Regions from separate parts of the Homo sapiens genome. Here all the other regions are linked to region 5. The links are contacts of gene promoters, found by promoter capture Hi-C in human tissues and cell types (Jung and others, 2019). All regions are on one chromosome and are shown on one strand. The core of a region is centred on a gene start or on the middle of the fragment in contact, and the rest is flanking DNA. Distances in the headings are between cores, read along the strand shown. Region 1 overlaps CPQ (carboxypeptidase Q). Region 2 overlaps LOC101927066 (a long non-coding RNA gene). Region 3 overlaps LOC101927066 (a long non-coding RNA gene). Region 4 overlaps LOC101927066 (a long non-coding RNA gene). Region 5 holds the start of SDC2 (syndecan 2). Region 6 overlaps LOC101927066 (a long non-coding RNA gene). Region 7 overlaps CPQ (carboxypeptidase Q).

Evidence for each region. The method cuts DNA at HindIII sites, captures the fragments that hold promoters and counts their contacts. A contact is called where the count stands out against the background at its distance.
Region 1: a fragment that was not itself captured here is called in contact with the fragment with the promoter of SDC2 in region 5 in 1 of the 25 tissues and cell types used here (spleen).
Region 2: a fragment that was not itself captured here is called in contact with the fragment with the promoter of SDC2 in region 5 in 2 of the 25 tissues and cell types used here (H1 embryonic stem cells and dorsolateral prefrontal cortex).
Region 3: a fragment that was not itself captured here is called in contact with the fragment with the promoter of SDC2 in region 5 in 2 of the 25 tissues and cell types used here (bladder and spleen).
Region 4: a contact is called between a fragment that was not itself captured here and the fragment with the promoter of SDC2 in region 5, in 1 of the 25 tissues and cell types used here (H1 embryonic stem cells).
Region 6: a fragment that was not itself captured here is called in contact with the fragment with the promoter of SDC2 in region 5 in 2 of the 25 tissues and cell types used here (dorsolateral prefrontal cortex and mesenchymal stem cells).
Region 7: a contact is called between a fragment that was not itself captured here and the fragment with the promoter of SDC2 in region 5, in 2 of the 25 tissues and cell types used here (dorsolateral prefrontal cortex and spleen).

The regions. Positions count from the first base shown.
Region 1 is chr8:97,093,336-97,096,832 of GRCh38, reverse strand. All of the region lies in intron 7 of CPQ (carboxypeptidase Q), which reads right to left. The region is part of intron 2 of LOC101927066 (a long non-coding RNA gene); the gene reads left to right. Among named protein-coding and RNA genes, the nearest start is that of TSPYL5, 180 kb to the left of the region's middle. The HindIII fragment of the contact is 3,142 bases long and covers 664-3,497 here.
Region 2 is chr8:97,392,004-97,395,904 of GRCh38, reverse strand. All of the region lies in intron 2 of LOC101927066 (a long non-coding RNA gene), which reads left to right. Among named protein-coding and RNA genes, the nearest start is that of SNORD3H, 36 kb to the right of the region's middle. The HindIII fragment of the contact is 4,267 bases long and covers 1-3,814 here.
Region 3 is chr8:97,374,339-97,377,692 of GRCh38, reverse strand. The region is part of intron 2 of LOC101927066 (a long non-coding RNA gene); the gene reads left to right. Among named protein-coding and RNA genes, the nearest start is that of SNORD3H, 18 kb to the right of the region's middle. The HindIII fragment of the contact is 4,443 bases long and covers 1-3,354 here.
Region 4 is chr8:97,234,823-97,238,203 of GRCh38, reverse strand. All of the region lies in intron 2 of LOC101927066 (a long non-coding RNA gene), which reads left to right. Among named protein-coding and RNA genes, the nearest start is that of TSPYL5, 41 kb to the left of the region's middle. The HindIII fragment of the contact is 3,307 bases long and covers 376-3,381 here.
Region 5 is chr8:96,491,869-96,495,252 of GRCh38, reverse strand. It overlaps SDC2 (syndecan 2), which reads right to left and starts at 1,440. Exons shown (of 5, transcript NM_002998.4): 1 at 922-1,440. The coding sequence starts at 981. The HindIII fragment of the contact is 18,592 bases long and covers 1-3,384 here.
Region 6 is chr8:97,255,057-97,258,464 of GRCh38, reverse strand. The region is part of intron 2 of LOC101927066 (a long non-coding RNA gene); the gene reads left to right. Among named protein-coding and RNA genes, the nearest start is that of TSPYL5, 21 kb to the left of the region's middle. The HindIII fragment of the contact is 3,214 bases long and covers 490-3,408 here.
Region 7 is chr8:97,112,724-97,116,597 of GRCh38, reverse strand. All of the region lies in intron 7 of CPQ (carboxypeptidase Q), which reads right to left. The region is part of intron 2 of LOC101927066 (a long non-coding RNA gene); the gene reads left to right. Among named protein-coding and RNA genes, the nearest start is that of TSPYL5, 160 kb to the left of the region's middle. The HindIII fragment of the contact is 5,761 bases long and covers 1-3,874 here.

The DNA.
Region 1 (3,497 bases), core at 985-3,484, 600 kb before region 5:
ATTCCATAGATGCCTGCATGGCAGCAACCAAGAGATTCTGAGTCATGAGGGACTATACTCTTCCCCTCTCTGCAGGGAGAAAGCTCTATGAAGGCCTCTTGCCTTCATCTTACTCCTTTGCCATAAAGCAGAGTAATAAGAGGTGGTTGTTCCATTCCTTACAAGTACCCTTCAAATCTCATGCACTCTTCAATCCTCTGCCATCTTCACGCATTAGGACTCAACTGTTCAGGCACATATCAAATGCCGCCTTCTCCAAGATGACTTTCCTGAGTTTTCCTCAACCAGTTTAAACTTTCTCTCTTTCCATTTTTATAGTAGTTGTACGTTTTAGCATTTATAATATTTTGCCTAGTTATTTAGGGAGGTTCATATCTTATTTCCCTTTCTAGGAGATAAAGTTCAAAGAAGAGCTGTTTTATTCAAAGACCTAATTCAATCCAACATAAAGTAGACATGTAACAAATATTTTGAATTGACTTTCCAGGCTCTCTTTCTCATAAAGTAATAAGGATAAGGTTAGTATCAGGACATAGATAATGATTTCTTTATTTTTTGGTCTCTGGAATACTACTCTATGTGCTTAAATCCTGGCTCTACCACTCATAACTTATATGAATTGGCCAAGGTACTTACCTCTCTCAGTGTTAGTTTCCTTACCCATTAAATGAAATCATTAATAAGATTATAATGGAAAACATTTAAAAACATTTAGCAAGTGCCTAGGACATAGAGTTCAATAAATGTAGCTATCATCATCATCATCATCATCATCATCCCCACCACAACTATAATTTCACTGGAAATTTGTTGATGGTCTTTGTTATTTTAAACAGAAATAACAAGCCCAAATGCTTTTAGGTTCCAGGAAGGCAATGTAAGTGAGAAAAGTAAAATTCAGAATTTGGTGACAAGAAAAACAAGTAGCCAACTATGATATAGTATGATTAAGGCTATGTTTTAAGTTTACTATGAAAACAGAGGAGGAGTACCAAACAGCCTTAGATACTAAAGGGAGACATGACAACAAAAACAACAATAGTGATTGCTAACATCTCTTGAGTAATATGTGTTAAGACGCTCTCTGTGCTAAGCCTTAAAAGATAAGTAGCAAAGGGAATAATAGCATATGAAATAAGGAATTGTGAAATAATTTGGTGTTTTTAAATAATTTCCAGCAGGATGCTATGGCCAGAGTTAAGTCCACATGAAAAACCCATGAGAGACCAGGCTGGAGAGTTTGGCAAGTGTCAAGTCATGTAGGCCTTTATATACCAATATGTCATGCTCAAGAGTTGGCCTTGAAAGAATGGGAAGCCACATTTTGGGAAGACAACTGGGAGCAATGCAGTAATGAGGAATTTTGAGTGCCTTAACTAAGGCAGCAGTACAATGAATAAAGGAGAGGCTACATTTAAAGGGTAGAAATGGCATTATCTTAAGGATTGACTGAATAAGGGAGAGTGAATGAGGAAAATAAGTCTAAGTCAATGCCAAGTTTTCAGGTTTGAGCGACTTGGACGATAATTTCTATTCCTAGAGATGGGTTGTGGTAAGGGTGAGATAGAAGTTTGGCTTCAGACATGTTGAATTTAAATACCTACAGGATACCCAAGTGGTAACATTGGCCACATGGCTTCCAAAATCTGTAGATATAGATTTGAGAATCTATAGAGTTATCTTCCAGGAACAGTGACCTGAATAAATAGAGTCCAAGGATGAGATCCTAGCATATACTAACACGTAAGGGACTGGCACAAGGAAGGGAAGCGAAAAAGGAATGAAAAGAGGAGTTAAGAGAAGCTAAGGACATACAGAGTTTCAAGATGTAAGTGGTGGTCAACTATGTCAATGCTTCAGAAAAATCAAACAAGAAAAGGACTAGAATGCACCAGTTCAATTTGGCCAAAAGGAGGACCTTTGTGTCCTTGGGAAGGTAATCCTGGTGGACAGTTCCAAGTGGAATTCAGGATGCACTGGAAGGAGGAATGAGTGAGAGGACAAAAAGCTTGGCTGCAAAGAAAAGAAAGAGCTGGAGGTTCATAAAGTTGGGTAAAGCTGTATATATATATATATTTTAATGGCGAATACTTGAAATATTTATATTCTGATGGGAAAAGTTTAGAGAAGAGAGAGAATTGAAGCAATAGGATATAAATAATTGCCAGTTTGAGTTGCTTGAGGGCATAGAGGGGGACCGGACTCAGAACATAGCCCTGGATAAGAAGAGGAACACATGCTATAGGAACAGAAAATAAAGAATGAAAATGGATGGAGAGTGGGCTGGTTTGCTGAGCAGGGGAGGACATGGGGATAGGAGAATAACCTCAGTGGTGACAGGTGTGTGTGACTTTCTCAAGCAGCCCTGGGCTGTCTGGCATGGATGGGGCAGCGAAGGTAGAGGAGTGAATTGATCTAAGATGTCCAGATCTCAGAGGGAAAAACTCATGCCATGAACTGTTTAGTGATTTCCTCAGCCTGAAATTTCATTATGAGTTTGAACAATTTGCAAACCTGCAAATCATTTGAGATTTTCCCAAAGCTGTGCTGAATACTAATTCATCTAGATAGACAGTGTAACCTGCAAGGGAATTGGAGCCTTTAAACTCAATTCTTTCTTGACACTTGAGAAATGAATGGAGAATTGTGTGTCCAAATCTTAGTCGTTGGAGAATCAAACACAAAAGTGTTTTATAAGAGTTGTCAGAAAAGAGTTTTGTTCTTCTCAGAACACTCATTCTGCAAAGAGAAAAAAAGAAAAGAAAAAATGTGCAAGGAGGTTTTCACATCCCCTTGACAAGAGAAGGAGGAACTTATTTGCCCTTACAAATAAAGGGCATTCCCTACCTTTATTTGTAAAGACTCACACCCTATGGGAGTCCTACAATAAATACTAATTCAGTGAATTTAGGATACCACAAAACAGATTTTAGTATTTCCATTCTGATCCCAGTGATGTCAGAGACTATAAATATTGGCTGTGACAAAACTTTAGATTTAAAGTAGAAGGCAAATGAATAGCGGATAAATTGATTACTTTAAAGATTTCAAATTCTGATTGGTGGTTTAACCTCTCAGAAGGCCTACCCTTTACAAAGAATACAGAAAGGAAGAGGGGCCATTGTCCTCCTTGTCTAGGTAATACGCATCAAATGTGAGTGAATCTCCACTGTCTAGGTAATACTCAACAAATGTGAGTGAATCTCCACTGTTATCTATGCCACTTATGTGTCACAGTGGGGTCTTTTCTCACACCTCTTTCTTTTTTCTATCCAACTTTTATTTTTGGTTTAGGGGGTATATATGCAGGTTTGTTACATGGGTAAATTGTGTGTCATTGGGGTTTGGTTTATAAATTATTTTGTCACCCAGGTAATGAATGTATTTTCTTTATCCACTCTACCATTGAAAGGCATTTGGGTTAATTCCATGTTTTGCTATTGTGAATAGTGCTGCGATGAAAATATGTGAGCATGTGTCTTTATGGTAGAACAATT
Region 2 (3,901 bases), core at 432-2,931, 900 kb before region 5:
TGAGATAGCATTTGAACTGGGTCTTGAAGACTGAGTAGGAATTCTACATGTAGACAAAGGAAAGAAGCACACCCAAGGGGCAAGAATAGCTTGTTTAAGGACAGAGAGGTGTGAAAAGACATGATCTGGGATTGTCATATTCTACAAGAAGAGAATAAAAAGATAATTAATACCATGGCCTCTGGCTGCCATTATATTCGCTCATTTCATGCTTTCTCTCCCATGTGTTTGTCTACCAGGAAGGGGTGTCTGAGTGTTTTCACTGAAAATAAAGCTCAGTTAGTTTTATTTACTGCTCATGTTATGAAAAGCCCTTAGTGTTGGGCCAGGTTAGAGAGAATGCAACCAGAACAGTCCCCAAATATTTACTTCCATAGCCTATTTATTGTAGGTGGAATTACAGAGGCATGTTCACTAGTGCAGAGATGAGCTCAGGTTTGGATGTTGATCCAAGTAGCAGAATGCTCAGAAGCTCACACTGGCTTAATCGGGCCAGGAAATCAGGACCCAGCCAGCAAAGAGAAATCAGGAATAAGGGAACCTGAACAAGTTAGATCAGAAGTAAAACGCTTTGGTGTCCATTAGTGCAAAACGCTTTGGTGTCCATTAGTGCTTCTGGAAAGACGTTCAATTCCTCTCTCTCAACACTCAGCACTCCCAGGCCAGTCCCTAAAGAGGCAGCATCTAGGAATAATCACCCACTAGGTCTCATTTCCCATTGTGCCCTACCCAAGAATGGCCTATTCACCTGGACACTGTGAGTGACCCAGCATCTCAGGCCAACCCATGTTGTTCCCTCTCTTGCTGCCTTTACAGCCCCTTCTCTAACTCAAGCTTTGACTCTTCCCAGTCCTCAAACCTGTGCACTAAGCTTTCTGGGCTCCCAGACGGTCATCAGCAAAATCCTGTTAGTCTCAAATTGTTTTCTGAACACTTTCTTCATCTTTTTGCAGCCCATTCAAGTGGTGCTTCCTTCCTTTTCTTTTCTCTCCTGCCGTCTTCACATCTAGAGCCTGGAGGCAGGTGAGATATCCCTGATTCTCCCTGCTGTTTCCAGACCTTTGTTGCACCCACTGTAAAGAATTGCAGTGCATCGGAAGCACATGCCACCGGGCTCCGCCATATCCCACACCCTCCTTTTGTGTCACCTACGCTCCTCCTCCGCATGTCCCTCATTTATTGAGAATTTTAGCACCTGGATTTCAGTCTTTCCACTGCCACTTATGTCATTATTTTCAGTATTCTGAATATCCACATAGATAATTCATCCAACACTTGGCCTCTCAGTTGCAAGGATTTTATCCTTGGACCATGTCAGTCTTTTATTCCAGGGCCATACCCTAGACTTTTATTAACCATTCCCTCACCACCTCAAAGTCTCCACTTCACTTCATGTGCTCTCTGATCATCCTGTCTTTCTATTCTAGCCTGTTCCCTTTGGTATCCCAACTCCAGCAATTCTTTGGGGCCTCTGAGACTGCCAATCCACCTTATTCCTTTTCTCTGTCAATCTCTTTCCCCGTTATCCAGCTGAGATTTCATGAACTGGCTTGCATACATTTTCTTGCATGCCACTCACCTCCCTTGTTCATCTCATCTTTCTTTGTACTTATTGGCAAAGCTTCAATCCTGGTTAAATCCAACTTGGACTATTCTCCTCCTTCACCCAAGAAGCTCCCTATGGCTTGTGAAGAGCACACACCCTTGTCAATTGGCCTCACTTTAAACTCCTGACCTTGGACTTGAAGTAGGCACTCAGCCCTTCCTGGCAGAGGGGCTTCACTCACCTTGTCAATCCATCCCCACTTTCCCAAAGAGTGATTTCACTCCTGTCTTCTCTTTCCTCAGACCAGCAATGGTCTCTCTGCTCCACTCATAAACTTGCTTCTTATGTCACTGAGAAAATGAAAGCAATTGAAAGAGAATTTTGGTAGGCTTCAACTACAAGATCTACGATCCTTCCTGCATCTCTACTTCTGTTGCTTGAATGAGAAGTCCTTGTTCCTACCTAGGGCTGGCTTTCCCCCTGCATGCTGGATCCCTTCTGCTCTCGCCTACTCCAGCACTTTATTCCCGCTCTTCTTGCTTCCTTCTGCATCACCTATCTCTCTCTACTGTGTCATTCCAGTGAAATTTAAACACTCTGCAGTACCACTTATCTTTAACCTCACATCCTGCTCAGCCCCATTTCCCCCCTTTATTTCTAATATTATTCTAAACTATGGGAGTTGTCTCTGGTAGCTGCCTCAATTTCCTCACTTTTTGTTCTCTCTTTAATCCATTCCATCAGATTTGGGTCCTCACTACTCCACCTAAACTCCAGGTCTGCAATGACCATCTATTGGAAATCTCTGAGTTTTTATCTCAACTGATGAGTAGCATCCCACCCATCTCCTTCCTTCTTGAGGCATCCTTCACTTGGCTTGTAGGATACTACACTCCCCTGGTTCCCACCCTGCCCATTCTGTCCCGGTTTCATTCACTGGATCCTTCTCTTCTGGACTATGCCTGGGTTCTTTCTTGAATTTCTCTTCTTTAGCTGTGCACAATGGCAGGGGCACAACGCCAGGCAATTTTCTGGCAGTTGAAATAAGGTGTTTAGGGGAAGCAATATCTTTTTCAAGTTTTCACAGAGTCATCTTGTGGGCTATTGAACAGGGCTGCAGCCTGACAACTCTTTCCCTCCATCAGGCTGAACTCTGGCCATCCCTGTCTTGGCTGTTCTTTAGGGGAGCTTCGTACACACCTGCCTGTGCCGGTGCACCACTCTCCCGCTGCCTCCCCCTGCCATCCAGGCATGTGCTTGGCTTTCCTTCCTGCACACATCATCCTGGGCTCTGCTCAAATATGAGCACCCTAGATAGAGCAATAACCCTCATTTCCCTCCTACTTTACTATTTTCAATAACATGTATTTTTCCTTTGCATTATACTGTAAATATATTTTCATATCTGTTTTTCTGCCTTCTCCACTAGTCTTAAAACTCCATGAGGGCAGAGATTGCCCTCATGTTCATTGTTCAATTCCTGGAACCCAGAACAGTATTTGGAATTTATCAGGTGCTCAATAAATAAATACCTGTTGAATGGATGAATGAATGGGTAGCATGGTTATGCTTCTTCATACCACTGGGCTTATGTCCTGGTACTCCATACATAGTAGGTACTCACTGAAGGGGGATGACAGTAACTCTAAACTCATGGGACTGTTGTTAGGCTTGAATCAGGTAACGGATGTGCATGTGCTTGGTGAGCTACATACGAAAACCTTTACTATTGCTCCTGTTGCTAAGAAATTAAAGGTTAGAGGTGGCCGGGCGTGGTGGATCACACCTATAATCCCAGCACTTTGGGAGGCCGAGGCGGCCGGATCACAAGGTCAGGAGATCGAGACCATCCTGGCTAACATGGTGAAACCCCATCTCTACTAAAAATACAAAAAAATTAGCCAGGTGTGGTGGCGGGCGCCTGTAGTCCCAGCTACTCGGGAGGCTGAGGCGGGAGAATGGCATGAACCTGGGAAAGGGAGCTTGCAGTGAGCCGAGATCGCACCACTGCACTCCAGCCTGGGTGACAGAACGAGAGTGAGACACGGTTTAAAAAAAAAAAAAAAGAAAAGAAAAAAAATTAATGGTTAGAGATAGAATTTGAAACTCCATTCATTTATTTACCCTGCAATTAATTCTGAGCCCCTCATCTGTTCTGTGTTCAGCGGTCGGGGTTCTGGGGATACGGCAGTATATTAGTCCACTCTTGCAATACTATAAAGAAATACCTGAGACTGAGTAATTTGTAAAGAAAAGAGGTTTAAGTGGCTCATGGTTCTGCAGGCCTTACGGAAGCAGAGTGGCTTATGCTTCTAGGGAGGCCTCAGGGAGCTTTCAATCATGGTAGAAGCGGGA
Region 3 (3,354 bases), core at 143-2,642, 880 kb before region 5:
AAAAAGCTTTTCTTTTCTCAGAAACCTGGTGTCTTAGTATTGGCTTCTAGCAGGAGCCCCTTTGTTTGGTAACAGTTACAGGCGGGGTGTCTCTGTGAGTTGAGAGGTGTTGGACAGAGCATCCCCAGAGATGGGAGAATCATTGCACACATGGTCTGCTACTGTCATCTTGCCAGCTACATTCTGCTGCTTGGAGCCCCCGTGACAACATTCTGCCATGTGGTGGCCTGGCTTGTGAAAGCCAGTGAAGGGCCATCTCTGTCCCTCCCGCATTTGCCAGTGATGCTAGACTGCTGAGCAGAAGGCTGTCTCCTTGCTACTTCCAACCTCTGGTCCTAGCTCCACCCCTAAGGCCATCTAAAATAAATACAGTCCCTTTGCACCAGCAAGTCCTCCCAGTATACTGAAAGAATCTGAAGAAGTGTCTTCTTCAAGGAAGTATGGCCAATTCCTTTAACTTTCCTTATGGGATGTAGTTCAGGTTCCTTTGCTGTCCTGAATGCTTCAGACTTGATCATCTTTATTTAAAGCATGGCTTCCCGGGTTGGATGTGGCGATACCCTATCTGTGGCTTGGTGTGGCACAGGGAAGTGTGGAATGCACTTGCCTCATTCTAGAAACTGCAGTGCATGCAGTCTACAATGGCACCAGGTTATTGAGTGGACCTGTGTACAGCTCAGAGGGTGCCAGAGCAGAATTTTAAATCTGACTGCATGGGTTCTAATCTTGGCTCCAGTATTTACTGATGAGGGACTGCGGGAAATCATTTTAAGAGCTTTTGGAGTCTCAGCTTCCTCCTCTGTAAATGAGGACTACTAAAGACCCTACCATTATAATGTTATATATTTGTTTTAAGTGGGAATCAAGTTATTAATTCAACAAAAGCACATAGCACAGTGCTGGTATTAGAATTATAATTATTATAATTATTAGTAATGTTTCAAGTACCAGTGTTGTCTAAACCCTTTCATGTTTCTCACATGATGTTCTGCCAGGCATCTGGATTTACCCATGTGGAGTCCAGGGTAGGACTCTTTCCTTGTTAAATTTTATCTTGTTGGAGTCTTTCTATTATCCTAACCCTATCCTACTAATTTTAGTCTCTGGCTCATTGAGGCAGTCTATTGTATGTCTTTCCAAAATTCTCACCCTGCCCAAAGTTCATGGAATTTCAGCACCTATAGTAGGGTAGCTTATGTTTTCCCCTTTCCTCTCTGAGACTTGGTGAGTGGCATGGAGAATGTAAATGGAGAAACACACAGCTCCACAAACTCAGATGTGTAGAGTGGCAATTACGAGGTCCAGGGCTGGAGTCGGCAGTCCTGGACTCAAGTCACTACTTTCCAGCTGTGCAATGTTGCACCAGCTAATGGATCTCTCTAAGCCTCAGTTTCCTCATCTATAGTATGTGAACACTAGGGAAATTTACCTTGGGGGTTGTGGGGAGGATAACTTGAGAAGACACATGTGTGGCACATACACAGCAAGCACTCGGTCAATAGGAGCTGTTACATTTACATTGCTTCTGTTGTTGCTGTTCTTGGTGGCCCTGGATATGATCAAGCAGCCCTGACACTAAGAACCACAGGGGTTTGGAAGAGGCACTCATTTCTGGAGCAACACTAAAGCAGTCCCAGGGAGAAAAGAGAAGGGGATGGAATAAGAGCTGGAGGATCTGATGGTTGGGGGAGCCAGGTCACAGTAACAGCAGCAGACCCGGTCCAGCTCATACAAGTGACCCTTTGTTCAGCCCTCTGCTGCCTGGCGTGTTCTCCTCAGACACTGAGGCTATTATGACACAAGCTTCCCTAGCAGCCCACACCATCCCCAGCTGCCAGGGTGAGGCATATGGAGCCAAGCTCCCCAGCTGTGCTCTGGCCAGCTCCCTGCTCATCCGCCAGAGGGCCAGGTTGTGGGGGATTATGGAGTGAATCTTGGTGTGGCAAGAAATAGAAAACAGGCACTTACTTTTAAAATCTTGGTGTTGGGGGGGTCCCCAGAGTTAGTGGTTATAAAATGATGGTGGTGAATTGCAAAGGTAGCGGCAGGCTGTTTAGGCTTCTGAAAAGTATTTTTGCTCGATGGAAATAAAGTTTGTTGTAGTCTTCTATGCACATTAAAAATTAATCAAGTTGATTGAGATCTTTGTATAATTAAAGTTGTTTTTAGGGATCAAAGAAGACTCAACCGGGAAGGGTTTAAAATAGAAAGGATTTTGGCATGCACATTCTAGAGATCTTGGAGATAATTAAATGAAGCTTGCTTCCTCCAGACTTAAGAACAATGAAACTGAAGAAACATCGGGGAGGAACAAACCAGGTTTTTTGTGTCTATCTGGTCCCCGATTATCCCAGTGTGGCTGGCCTTGGTCCTCCCCCTTGCACTGATGTGGCTCAGGAGGAGAGGCACACCCCCAAACCCCACTGTGCCCCTGCTTCAGGACATGTGCATGTCCCCTGTCTCGGAAGCAGGAGCCTGACTGACCAATTGAGGCCTTGGGGGAGAGATGAGAAACCCCATCCCGGGGCCACAGCACCAGAGTCCCTCTGTTTAAAAAGGAAAAGAATTAAAAGCAGGATCTATTCCGCTCCTGGGATCCAGGACCACTTTGCAACTTCCCTGAGTTTTCACTTTGCTCTGTGGTGACATCTTTTCAGCCTGTTCCAGAAACTGGGTTTCCTGTTGGCTGCTGGGTTCCTGGCACTGCCTCCTGCTCTTGGGTGGCCAGCCTACACCTGGAGAGGGCTCTCTTCCTTCCTTCCCTTCAAAGTCTCTTGCTGGAGCCTGAAACAGTTCTCTTTCACCACATCTAACATGTTTCATGAACTCTGCCTTTGCTCTTACTTTCCTTTATGTTTAATGATGTGAATGCTTGCAGCTCAGACCCTTAGTGTCACTTCCAGGGACCAGTATTGCAGTAAATTCCTAACTGGATGCTCTCTCTTTTTTTCTCCAATCCATTCTTCACACCAAAATTATTTTTCTAGAGCACAGATCTTATCATGTCATGCCATACACAAAAATCCACAATGGTTTCTCACTGCCTACAGCACAACGTTAAATTCTTGAGCCCAATGTTCATCAGCTTCCTTCATATAACTACATTCCCCTTTTCCCATTTTCTCTTCCTCTCTGGCCCTCTTCCATTCTAATGTGTCCCAACTGCGGCATGCAATTCAGAGTTCTACAAACTCAGAATGTGTAGAATTTTGCTTTGTGCTTTTGCTTCCACTATTCTCTCTGCCCTTGTTTCACCATTACAATTTTACTCATCCTTCTAGTGATCTCAAATGCCTTCTCTTTTGTGATGTCTGAGCAGATTCTCCTAAAGTAGAATTGAGTGACCAATCTCTT
Region 4 (3,381 bases), core at 780-3,279, 740 kb before region 5:
TTCTTTCCTTAATTCCTCCCTTTTTGAATCTAAGCTGGCCATAGTGACTTGCTTGACTAATAAAATACAGTGAAAATGATGTTCTGGGACTTCTGTGTTTAGGTCAGAGGAAGTGTTGTAGTTTCTGCCTGGGTCTCCTGGAACGTTCACTCTCAGAATGGTCCATCTTGGAACCAGGTGGCATACTGTAAGAAGCCCAGGCCACATGGAGAGGCCATAAGTAGGTGCTCCAACTGAGCTTCCCTCCCACAGCCAGTATCAGCTGCCAGCTATCTGAGTGTGCCATATAGACACGGATCCCAATCAAGCCTTCAGCTGAGTGCAGCCCCAGCTAACATCTGACTGCAACTGTAGGAGAAAGCCCAGATAAGAATCACCCAGCTGAATGAAGTCAACCCATAAAACCATGATAAATAATAAATTGCAGTTTTAAACAATTATGTTTTGGGTGGCATTCTGTGGAACTGTGGATACTTAGAACAGAATTTGGTACCTGGAGTGCTGCCATAATGAAAACTTAAAATGTGGGATGTTGGCTTTGGGGACCAAGCAGCAGGAAGAAGCTGTGAGGTCCCTGAGGAAACTATTACTGAGAACTAGAGGGAAAATGAGGACATTGTTATTGGAAGTTGGAAAAAGGCATCCTTTGTTTTGTAATGATGGATAATTTGGTATACTGTTGCTTTTGGTAATGTGAAAAACAGAAAATATATCTAGGAAATGGCAGATTTGGCTAAGGAGACTTCCAGGCAGAATGCTAAACATGCCTAATGGTTTCTCTTAGGCAAGTATGGTAAAGTATGAATATAGGGAAGTGAACTCCCCTCTTCCATAATGAACTATTCGGTTTCAAGCAAAACTTAGATGGAATATAAGAAGCCAGACTTGCTGGGTTTAGAAATAAAGCTGTTTTCCATTCCAAGCCTCTCCAGTTGGAAAAAAAGTTCTCAAAGTAAGACATGGTATAAGGTAATGATCATCTCAGAGATATGGCTCTAAGACGCTTGCTAAGATTTTAGAAACCTTTAAGGTGACATACTGTAAGAAGCCCAGGCCACACGGAGAGGCGAAAGTCTACTTCACAGACTTTGAAGAATTCTGAAGGGCATTGTTCCATAGCACCTAACTGTCAGCCCAAGGCAGAAAGTGGCATACCTTAAAGAGATTTGTAGGTATGTATTTGACTAATGGAGTGAACCTGAAACAGTCTTTAGGAAACTTACAAAAAATTTAAGAGAATTGTACATGCGAAAGCACCATCAGCCTGAACTAAACAGGAAAGAGACAGTTCAAACTGCAGAGAGCCTTATATGGGTAGGAAGTAGGACAAGAAGGCTACTAAGCTGCAAACATGGCCATTTCTTATGGAAAAGGAAGAATGATTCAGAGAGCAGAATCAAAATCCCACTAGGAGTGGGGAGCCAAGAGCTACAATCATTCCCAGGGAGGCACAACTGGGAACTCACTAATCAAGGATCTGGCAACATGCACCTGGCAGCAGTTTAGAATTGCTATGGATCAGTGACTGCGATGTGCCTCCAGTTTCTTTCCCTTTCGAATGAAAGCTTTAGTGAAGTTATCCTATCTCTGTATCACCACTGTATTTATGTGTGTGGGACAGATAACTTGTCTCTTCATCTAACAGGTCTTCAGATTGACAGAGCTGTACTCAGGGAACTATACCCCAAGGAGGCTCATCTGCATCAAGATCTGACTTAGATGATAAAATCCTGGACCTCAAGCTTGAGTGGATGCCATAATGGGATGAGACTTTTGGGTCTTAGGAGGAGACACGTGTATTTACCATGTGGGAGGAATGTAAATAATATGCAATCAGAGAGCAGACAGTGACAAAGATGACTGCAAATTCTTTGACCCTCTTCCTATTAAGAGTTATTGTCTTATCTCCCTCCTCTTGAATCCAAGCTGGCCCTGCGGAATTGCTTGACCAATAGAATACACAGGAAGTGAAGTTTGGGACTTGTGAGACTAGGGCATTAGAAGCCTTGCAGTTCCTGCCTGGATCTCTTGAAAAGTTTTCTCTTAGAATACTCCTTTTTAGAATCCCACTATCCTGTGGATTCTAAATTCTGTGAGAAGCACAAACCACACAGACTACATATAAATGCTCAATCAGTAGCCCCAGAAGAACTCCCAGTCCTCAGTGAACATTGACTGGTGGCCATATGATTTGTCATCTCGGACATCCAGCCCAGTTCAGCTTTCAGGTGACTGCAGCCCCAGCTGCCATCTGACTGCATCTGCGTGAGAGACTATAGGTGAAAACTTCCCACCTGACCCAGTCAATCCACAGAACCATGAGAGATCATAGTAAATTGTTTTAAGCCATTAAATTTTGATGATGGTTTGTTATGTAACAAGAGATAACCAGATAAGGTTAAATCTTAGAGGTCAACAGTCATGGTTTCAAATCTCAAGTTCATCATTTATCAACTATGTGATTGTGGGCAAGTCACCTAAAATATCTGAGCTTCATTTTCCTCATCTATAAAATGGGAATCAAAACAGAACCCACCTAATGGGTTTGTTATGGGAATTAAAAGAGAGAATGTATGAAAAGCGACAATATAGTGACAGAAAGTGGGTCAGTAGGTAGTTACTATGGTTAGTAAACCAGTGTGAGTCATCTGCTTTTGTTGAAAGGTAGATGAGATGCTTGTGGCCATGTGGGAAGAATTAATTTAAGAATCTGGTCATTTTACTAAGGACCTGAGAGTAAGGTTAGGTCATTAGCATCTTTGTATTTGCTGTCCATTTTTCTATAATGGACTATAGGGGATTTTGATTCATGGGGGAAATGTTCTGAAAAAATCCTGGGCTCAAAAGAAATAGAAACACTTGGCCTTTTAAAATGGGGCTGTTATGGTTCCATAGACGGCACGTACCACCTCCACATGCGCTGAGCAGGCCTAGCTCACTAAGGTCATAGTGAGCAGGTGAGCAGACCCAGCCCTTGTTACAGTGAGACCAGAGGCACTAGCCTAGAGAGAAGGAGCAGGGGCTCTGAAGCCCCCTGGAGGCCTAAGATGCTGCTGCTGTCCACTGTATGTGCATGTGGATTGGTGAGTGGGTGCTGGAATTCCACATGGGGTGAGGGCAAACTTAAAGAGGCTAGACCCCAGCTGAGAGGTTTAAAGGAATGTCTTGATGTTCAGCACATCACCATACTGATGTGCTCAGTGAGCTTTGTCACCCATTCATTTATTTATATAGGCATTCACTCATTCAACAACCATTTATTGCATGCCTCTATGCACCAGGCCCTGTGCTATGCTCTGGGGACGCACGACACTTAAGAGACGGTTCCTCCCCTGTGATCATGAGGGGCTCATGAACCAGCAGGGGAGACAGACAGGTAAA
Region 5 (3,384 bases), core at 191-2,690:
ACTCCTCCCGGCCCCAGAAGCGCCCCGCCAGGGCCAGAGAGGGCGAGCGTGGCGGGAGGGAAGCCTCTGTCCCCCAGCGGCCAGGCGACCCGAAGCCGAGCGCCGTGTCACACGTACCCCGCCTCGCCCTGCTTGCGGCACTCCCGTGTAACTCCTATGAAAATGTCCTCCCGTCCCTGACGCCCCGCGGTGCAACCTCCACCCCTCAACGAGGAGGGGGTCGCCGCAGGACTGGGAATCCAGTGGCCGGCGTCCCAGCATTTTCGGACGCGTTCCGTGCCTCCCCCAGTATCCCCTTGAGGGATCGCCTACTGCGATTCCACGTAGTGTCGGTTACCTCGCCCTAGCCGCAGGGAGCATCAAACAAAAGAACTTTTGCAAACTTTTCTCTCTGGACACTCGCGGGTCTCTTAAATCTGGCCCCCATCTCCCCAGAACTTGCATGCAGTCAAACAGGAAAGCTGGCGCGGGGGGGATGGTGTGCGGAGGAAGGGACCCCGAAGTTTCCAGGTCATCCCTGGTCTCGAGGAGCGCGCGGAGTGGAGCCGTTCCCTCGCGGGCCCGACCCAGGCTCCCCCCTCCTGCCACCCTTTCCCCTCCGTCCTTCCCAGACCACGCAGCAAGACCCGCCGAGGGCGAAGAAGTTGGGAGTGACTTCAGGGGCCTCTGCGGCTAGACCAAACCGCAATTCTCGGTGCCCCCATTCCCGCGGACCGCGGGGTAACGCCAGCGAGCAGCGCTTTTCTGAGGAAGGGAAGAGGGGGAAAGGGTGACCGGACGAGCGCATTTGTCCCAGCGGATCTCCGGTGTATACTTGGGGACTGGGGGTTCCCCAGGTGGCGCTCCCCTATTCCCTGCGGGCTCCTCTCGTAGCTTCAAACACCCTAAACGGCGCGCGCATCCTCCGCCTGGCCCACTCACCGACTCCGCCGACACGCAGGCCACCAAGCCCAAGGTGAGCAGGATCCACGCGCGCCGCATATTCCCCAGGGACCGGCTGCTCCCAGCCGCTGCTTGCAACCAGGGCAAAACGAAGCCTCCTGCCCAGCGCTCGGCGCAGCCCGCGCACACGAATCCGGAGCAGAGTACCGCAGCGATTGCGGCTCAGGCTCGGGGACTCGGGCTCGGGGCTCGGGGGCGCTCGCTTCCTCCTCCTGCGCCTGCTCCCGCCGCCCGCAGCTGCGCCCCGGGAACGCGGCGCCCTCTCACTTGTTGGTTTCTGCACTCCCGACACGGAGTTGGTGCTCCGGGAAGGCTGCTCTCTGAAGCTCTTCTTGCTCTGCTGTGGTTTTGCTCCTCCGCGGACTCCTTTCCCGTGCCGAGGTTCAGTTTCTGGTTTTAAGGAATAAATTCGCTGGCTTGAAAGGGAGCTACGGCAGAAGTTTAGGGGCAGAGCGGCGGGAGCGCGCGATCCGCGCGGCTGGAGCTCCGGGGGTATCTGGAGAGCAGCGCGTCCAAGCGGGGCCACTGGCTCCGCGGCTGCGCCCCTCCTCCTCCCGCGCCGCGCCTCCCTCCCCGGGTCCTCCTCCTTCTCCTCCTCTTCTTTTCCTCTGGCTCCCTCCCTCCTGAGCCTGCTTCTCCGGGCTCCCCTGGGCGACTGGGGAGAGGAGGCGGCAGTGTGACTCCCAGATAAACCCGGGAGAAATTCCTACAGGATTACACGCCGATTGGCAGCTCCGAGGACCAGTGGGCGCCGCGGCTCCGCGCTGTGGCTGCGCCGGCTCTGCTCACCGGCAAGCCAGGGCTCCTGCGTTTTCTCAGTCCTTTTCTTCCTTTCTCTCCCCACTTTTCCTCTCTCCTCTATGCTCTTTTCTTCCCCGTTGTCTTTTCTCTTTCCCTTCTTCACTTTCCCTTTTCTAGAGAACAATTAGTGAAGAAACGAGAGACGTATGTAGCTTTTCTGCCTTGAGAATTCGACCAGTAGAAAGAAACTGCTTTGTGAGTTGAGGGAAAAAAAAAGTGTAAGATGCTTTCAAGCAATGTGAAGTGTTCATAAATCGCCAGTTCATGAAAATTGCATTTTAAAAGAGAAGATAATTAATGTAATAAATATATAGTGAGAGTGTTTCCCATTCTCCCAAATCCTTCCGCACCCCCAAAAAAGGGACATGGAGGAAGGATCCTGTAAACCCAAAGTGCAACAGTTTGAAAGCTCCTAACTTCATTAAGGGCTTAAATACCATTTCTCCCTCACACACAGTTTATGCCACTAAGGCTTTTTATAGGCTCCATTTTAGCAGATAGGTGTTAACGTTTGGAAGCTACAAATAGGGTAATTTGATGAGAAGTTGGATAGAGACCCTGAATAATAACAGATTTAAGATAACTTCAAAGAAAAGAGGGATAAAGTAATTCTTAGTTTGAAGAAAATAATGAACATGTATTTCCTAAATGGAAGTAGCTGACATGAAATATTTTGTTACAATGTCTGTGGCATATTATAGAACATGGCAAATGCGTATTCCCTTCCAGTTTCTTTTTCTTACTGTCACAAATTTTACACACAAATCCCTTGCAGTTCGTGCCATCATTTTTCTCTCTGACTTATAGAGTAAATGAATTATGACGCCATTCTGCTCCTGGAATGCCCACTACAGGAAACCAGAGACTTTTCTGTCTGTTCACCATTGTATTCTCATTCCTGGTACATAAAGACACATGATAAATATTATCTTGAATAAATTTTGCTCTAAAGCTCAATTTATACCGTATAAGAGTTGTGAGCCTTTAAAATACACCAATGTAGATATATAGATATGAGGCCATGGTAATTTTTCAACTCAGTATTAGAATAAAATACAGTCATACCCTCAGTGAGAATTAAATGTCTTAGTAACCTATTACTGTAATAAATCTCAAAGAAAGAAATTTAACTGGAGAATTACAACTCAAACTTGGAGACACTTATTCCTTTGGTTTTGTGTGCCAGCTACCAAACCTACAAATGCTCATGAGCAAGTCTAAGGCATTGGCCAACAAAAAGGTAATATGGAGAAATAGAAGAGTAGGCAAAGGAGAAAGAAGAAAAAGAGCAATAGGCCAGAAGTTGTAACATCAGATGATGCTTCTGATTCCACAGACACTGTAGCTGGCATCTGTGCCAATGTGGGCTCCACTTAGCTTTTGAAAGAATGAACCACAGCCTTTTTTTTTTTTTTTTTTTTTTTTGAGACAGGGTCTCATTCTTGCCCAGGCTGGAGTGCAGTGGCCTGCACTGTAGCCTCTACCTCTCAGGCTCAAGCAGTCCTCCCACCTCAGCTTACCAAGTAGCTGGGACTACAGGCACAGGCCACCACACCAGCTAATTTTTGTGTTTTTTATAGAGACAGGGTTTTCCATTGTTGCCCAGGCTGGTCTCAAACTCTTGGGCTCAAGTGATCTGCC
Region 6 (3,408 bases), core at 847-3,346, 760 kb before region 5:
ATTGCTTAACAGATTTCACCAGATCTAAATGTCTCTAAAAACAGTGGAATAGAAAATAACAAATCTACTACTGATAGTGCCTACTTCATAGCATTTTTATGAGTAATACTATCACCACAGTGACTAGCACATGGTAATACTATCACCACAGTGACTAGCGCATAGTGATCAATAGCTATAACCATTTGAAGAAACCAGGGGTGAGTGTATCTGAGAATCCAAGAAAAGATATTGGCACGTTGGTGGATCAAAAAGCAGATATTGGGGTCAGCATATTTTGCCTTAATCTCACCAGCATTTCTACATCTTGTTGACACTTTGTGAAGTGGGCAGGACAGCCTCCACCACACCCTTTATACAGGAAGACAAAGCGACTTGCCCAGATTCACCAACTGGGAAGTGGCGAGTGTTTATTATGGATCAACATGTGTAAACTGTAGGGGGAGGGGGTAGAATGGGACAGAGGGAGAAGTTGATCAGCAAACCCTATTGGGAGCTGTGGAGCATACGCAGCCCTCAGAGGTGTCCTGTCATGGGTCTTTGTACCCCTGCCACTGTTAGCTGTTGCATTTGGGCTACCCGGAAAGGAAAGAGATGCCCTTGGGCAAAGCAGCTGTCTATGGCAAGCACACTCTGAAGGAGCTGACAGCTGGAGGCAAGTCCTTCCCTCCAGAAAGGGCATTTGGGCAGTGCATCTCCTGTCCTACCACTTTCTTCATCTGCAAAATGGGGATCATGATAGTACCAGCTTGCAGGGTTAAAGTAAGGTAGTGGGTGCAGGTGTCTTCCATAAACAACAGTTGTCTTTAAGGGCACTGTGGGTACTCTGTCTACCAGGCAGCTCTGGCTGTGGGAGCCCCTCCCAATAGAGCTGCCACCAGCCCTTTCTGATAGGACTAACTCCCCAGGAATGTCAGGGTGGTGACTCCGGAGCACTTACAATTGGACACTGTGAAGATGATCATTGTGTTGCATCACCACTGCCCTTCATTCAGTTGTTTCAGATTAAATTCATCATAACAAGAGGTCTCTGATCAAAAACATTGAACTTAAATACGGGGGGAACTCTGGAAAAAAAGGAATGCTGAAAGAAGCTGAGTTTCCTTTCATTCTGAGGACTCTGAATACATTTGAGACTTGCATCTTACTCTTCTAAAGCCATGCAGCCCAAGCTTTCTATTCCATGTTAGTCAGGATGTAGGAGTCATTTCAGACCAAGTCAGGTTGGGGTAGATGATTAGAATGATGCTTGTAGAGATTATCACAATAATGGCCCCCAATGAATCATACTTTCTGATACCATGCCCTTGTGTAGTGTTCTTCCACACTGACTCTGGGCCTAGCCATGTGTCCTGTTTTGGTCCATGTGACATCAGCTAACATAACCCAAGCAGAGACTTGGTAAGTGCTTGCTCACAGGGATTTGCTTGAAGCTCCAACTGGCCTTCTTGAGGATGAGAGACCAGGTGAAAGAGAGGACCTGCCCTCCCAGCCAATTCTCCTGCTGAATGGAGCCTAGGTGAAGCCAGCAGAGCCTCCCAGCTGTCCTACAGAGTCACGAGAAATAATAAATTGCTGTTATGATGATTTTTAAAATTGAGGTGAAATACACCATAACAGAAAATTCACTATTTTAAGGTATGCAATTCATGGCATTTAGTATCTTTATAATGTTGTGCAACCACCACCTCTTTCTAGTTCTAAAACGTTTTCATCACTCCAAAAGCAAACCCTGTATCCAGTAAGCAGTCACTTCTCATTCCCTGCCCCCTCTAACTCCTGGCAACCACCCATCTGCTTCCTGTCTCTATGGAGACACTTTTGTGACTGGCTTCCTTCACTTAGCATAATGTCTTCAGTGTTCATCCATGTTGTAGCATATATCGCTACTTCATTTCTTTTTGCACTCAAATACATGTATGCAATGTTCATAGAAGCACTATTCACTATAGCCAAAAGGTGAAAACAATCTAAATGTCCATTAACTGATGAACAGATAAGCAAAATGTGTTGTACCCATACAATTAAATATTATTGAGTGATAAATTGCTGTTATTTTAAGCCATCAGGTTTTGGGCTGGTTTGTTAACTGTAGTAATAGATAACAGAGAATTTTTAAGGTGGTTGGAGTAATAACAAGAGCTATCACATCTTACACTGCATGCAATGTACTATGTGAAGCACTTTGTGTGAATTCTGCTTTAATCCTCACAAGAACCCTGTGGTTTAGGTACTAATATTGACCCCAGTTCACAAATGGGAAAACTGAGAAATTAAATATTTGCCCAAGTTAACCCAGACAGTTCAATTCCAGAGCTCATGCCTTATTCACTCGCTGTACTACAATCCAGCCATAAATGAAAGGCCTACTCTGGAAGATCTAACTAAGGACATGAGTGTGTAGCTTTGCTGTGAAAGAGACACCATTCTCAGCTTTTTTATATAGTGAATATCACTGGTAGAAATGATCAACAGAATTTAAAGCCTTTAGTAGTTAAAATCTAATCTGTGCAGTCTGACTTGGGAATATTGAACTTTGTAGAACAATGTCTATATAGTAAGTTTTCAAGGGCAAAAGTTACAACCATAATATTTGATATAAATAAACCAATTGAGTAATGCATCAAAGCTTTATATAAAACTGACACAGGAAAAAATTAATCCCAATCAAATAACTTCTGTGAAATAAAATATGAATGAAAATGGGAAAAATTAAAGAGGATTTAACTAGGCTATTTTAAGAAGGTTGATCAAGGAGTCAAATGGACTTAATGGAGTTTTTTCCAGAAAATCCTTTCAGTACAAAAATGTATTCATTATGACATAATTTTGGTTTTAATGGTATTATTCTTAGGAGTCAAAATATCCTTAGGAGAGAACATCTTTCTGAGTCAAACATCTTTTATCTTGCATAAAGATTCTTTGGAGGGTGTAAAGTGTTATCAGAAGGTGAGTATGGGGTCACTCTGGGATGCCAAGACAGATTTGTAAGATTCCAGACTCTTTGGAGAATAAGTGCATTGGTATTTGGAGTCAGACCACGAGATGCTGGGCTTGACTTATGATGCAAGGTAAGGAGGTGAAGGCTGTCCTGTGGGGGTCAGGAATTCATCCCAGTGTAGGGGAGAGTTAGGTCCTGGTGTCCCTTTTGAGACACATGTTCTATGGCAGGGGGTAAAATGGCACATGGAGAAGCCACAAGAGTAATCTTGTGGCCTAATGGTTAGGAAACTTGATAGAAACTCCGTAAGAGGGAGCCTTACTCCTTAAGAGAATAAAGAGCTCACTGGGGGTGTGGTCATCTCAAGTAACCACTGAACCCAGTGCAACAGAAATAGGAACCCAGGAGCAATATCTAGCTAGTTGCAAGGATATGGGAGCAGGAAGTTTTTGGGATCCATTACAAAG
Region 7 (3,874 bases), core at 483-2,982, 620 kb before region 5:
CACAGTCCTGCACTGGAGCAATTGCTAACATACTAAGCAGCCTTAAGAACCACAAATTTCTAAAAATTTGGAAAAAAACCATGTTAAGGGTTTTCAGACTTTCCCTACAGAAATAGTCACCACTGAAGGCCTTATTCTAATTTTCAGTTATAGCTGGTGTCTGTTTATTTAAGACCTTGGTTAGAAAAATTCAGTTTAATATGCATCAGTGAATTCTGTTGCCATTACAGGCTGGCCAACCATGGTAATGAATCTGGCTGGCTCTTATTTTAGAGTCTGAATTAGCATATTCAGGGGACATTCTCCCTGACTGTCACACTGTCCTGAGGAATTCAGACATCTAACTTCATGAGGGATATGCCTAGCCCCTCTTCACTACCTCCCAGGCCACCAATAACCTGTAATTCTTGAGACCTGGATGTCTTTGACTTTTGTCTCCATAATTCTTACTTTGGTCTTAACTTTTCCTATTTCCTTTTCTGAGTCCATTACTCAAGGCCCTATCATTTCTTTTTCTGTCTCTTTTCTTCCTGTCTGCATTTTCCTTGACCCCTTCTCCCTTTTCAATTTATAGCCTGTCAGCCTCACCCATTTTGCTTTGTTATTTTACTCCCTCCTTTTAAGTGTCCTTGCCTTTATTACCAAACTTTTCATACTCTTTTGCAACTTATTCCTTGTTTTCCACTTGGAATTTCTTTAAAAATTTAAAAAAACAATTATAACCATTTTTTCAATACACCTGATTTTTAAAGTAGAAACTCCATTTCTTTAGTGTGTGAAGCACAGAGGTAAAGACATAAATTAACTAGAGCTGGCTGAGATGGGAAACAGAAAGCCAATTTGTAACCTTGTGCCATAATGAATATGAAGCAGGTGGTGATAGTATGAATACATACCTACATCCAGCTTAGCACACGCTGTACCCATCAGGTACATACAGCCATGCCCAAAGGAAATCAATTTCTCCTTCACCGAATGCCAAATGAAGGCTAAGTCAGGTACTGATCAACTATTTCGAGAACAAATTTAAAAATGGCACAGACGTTTTCAAATTGCCATGAAGTCTGGTTTCAACAACATGAATACCTGAGTCAGCTGAGGATATTCCTACCCGGTAACTAATGTCTATGCAATGGCTGAAGTGCTCTGGGGTATTCTTCTGATCCCCAAACATTCTGCTAACTGAGCAACACAGGCCCACTAACTAGAGTAAAATTGCTTCGGGTTGATAAACCTTCAACAGTTTCCCTGAGTTTTCAGCAGGCTCACACTCACCCCTGCCAATATAGCTTTTGATTACAAAACACAACAGTTAGGTAGTGCAGGTAACAGTAATTATCTTGGTAATTAGATTCTGTCATGCACTGTATACTCTGGACCTTGAGCTTTGTGCAATAGAAGAGGCACCCAGGGCATCTTTAGGGCACTTGGTCTCTTCTAGGGAGCAGGATGCTAATAAGCTTTTGCTGAAACAATGAGAAGGCATATTGCCTCTCCTGTCACACCTCCTTCCTCCCCTTTCTGGTTCAGCAAATTTCAGTTGTGTTGTAGAAAAGAAAAGAAGGGAGAAAACTGGAAATGAGGACTGTGGATGGAAACTGTCCAGGAGGAAATTCAGTTTCTGCCTTGTGCTCTGTACATTTCAAAATGGAAATGCTGTATTCATTAAACTGCCCATTCAGCAAACAATACAGGGAAACAAGATGGATTTTAGGAAAGCAGGAGGGAGGAGAAGAGTCCAGCCAGAGAGAGGAAATGAAATGAGGGCATTGTTTTTAAAGGAGACTATAAAATGTTTAACCAGAGAAAGGAAAATGCCTGCACAGATTTCACTGAAGGATGAAGGAGTGCCTCATTTCAATACTGACAACTGGCAATAACATCTCTATTGCAGCCACACAAAACTCTGCTGGTGTCTGACAAGACCGTGGTGAGTCTAGGTAATGGTATAACTTCCATGCAGTGAGTTTAATGCATTAGGATGAGGGATGAAATTCTTGATATATACTTGATATGAAGAAATACATCAGATCTCTGAGGGTAAACATAGTTACCTGGTAGTCAAAACAAGGACACAGAGAATGGAAAATAAAAAAATACTGAACACCTACTGTGTGCCAGGCACTTCCACATATTGTCTCACTTAATCCTGAAAACATGCTGGTGCAATGGCTTCATTCACAGAGGAGCAAAAAAGTTCAAGAAGATATGCAAATAGCTCAAGTTCATACAGCTGCTCAACGGCAGCGCTGAAATTCGAGGGCAAATCCCATATGGCTTCCACCCTGCCATGCTGCCTTATGAGAACACAGTCCTGTTACCTTCCAGAAAGGAAACCTGCACTATGGATCACCAACCACGTGCCAACTACTTTGAAACATACCCCTGGTTTCCTCTTCTCCTATAATTTCAACTGCACCAACATGCAGACAATTTGACAGACAAACAGTATGGGGCCTCTTCAAAGGACAATTAAATCTCCACCACTGCAATTACACAAATCTGGTGCCTGGGGTTGGGAGTATTATGAAATCCCCAGCATTTGGCATCCCTCCTTAATAGGGAAATCTCATCTGAAATCCAGAGGGATGGCTCTGGAAAGAGACAGGTAGGAACCTAAAAGAGTTTTCTTGGCTGTGCACACATGGCCTTCGTGATGGACACTCTGCTGCCCACGTTGTAGCCAAACAATACAAACCCTAAGTGTTTCCACAGTTGGAACAGGCCCAGCTCTTGAGGACTGGTCTGAGTTTCAGCAGTTTAGAAATCAACAGCACATGAACACATTTTTCTGTACCTTTAGCAGACTGGGTGAGTATCCACCAGATACGTTTTATTCCCTTAATGTTAGGTTTCAGTAGCTGATTAGAGCTGACATTTGTTGCGCTCTAACTGAGCTCAGTTGTTGTTGCCTGAGAGATGGGTGTGATTATCTCCATTTCTGGTAGAGAGATTAGGTCACTTGCCCTTAGCCACCCTCAACTGGGAATGCACCACAGAGGTTTGCTCCAGAACCTGCTCACTATGCTGCCTCCACCACATGGAACTGAATTCTCTGTTTTGCAAACTGAGGATTCAGTCCACTATCATATAATTTTGTTGTTAAGTGTTTAAGTCAGTAAACACTGTGCCTATATTCTAATTATTTGCTTTATATCCTGTAATTGCTTCTCACCAAACATTCATTCACTCATCCTCTTCATTCTAAAACACATTAAAGTCCTGTTTATGTTCCTCCTGTCTTAAACCAACCCATTCTTTTACCCCACACCCTTCTCCTGCTGCTGCTCTCTCTGTCTCCTCCCTTCAGAGCCAAGCCTCTTGAGGTTCCAGCCTGGGCGACAGCACAGGACTTGTCTCAAAAACAAAAAAAGGTCTTTCTGGGACACTGGACCTGCTTGATCATCTGCCTTCCTTGCAAAACTCTTCCCCAAGCCCTGTCATGGTAGCCTCTCTCCTGGTTGCCCCCACTCGCTGATGGCCCCGCAGTCTTCTCCATGGGCTTCTCTTTACCTGCCTGCTCCTTAGCATCCCTCCTCTTCTCCTGGGCTGTCTAACCCACTCCCAGGGCAGCATGACTAGCAAAGTTTTGATGATTTGTGACCCCAATGGTCCAGGCCTCTCCTGAGGCCCAGATACACAGCAAACTATCCCCGAAATGGCTTCCCTCTGTCCCTAGATCTGCAGCTTCTAGTCTTCCCAACTTCTGTGGGTGTGCTACGATTATCCCAGAGGCGCAAGCCTGAAACCAGAGCCCCATCCTTTACTCCTTCCTCTCCGTGACATCACTAGTGCCTCCATGTACGCCATCAGCACTGCCCCTCCCCTCATGGAAGCCATTGTCATGTCTCCTCTGTCTTCCCGCCTGTCCAGT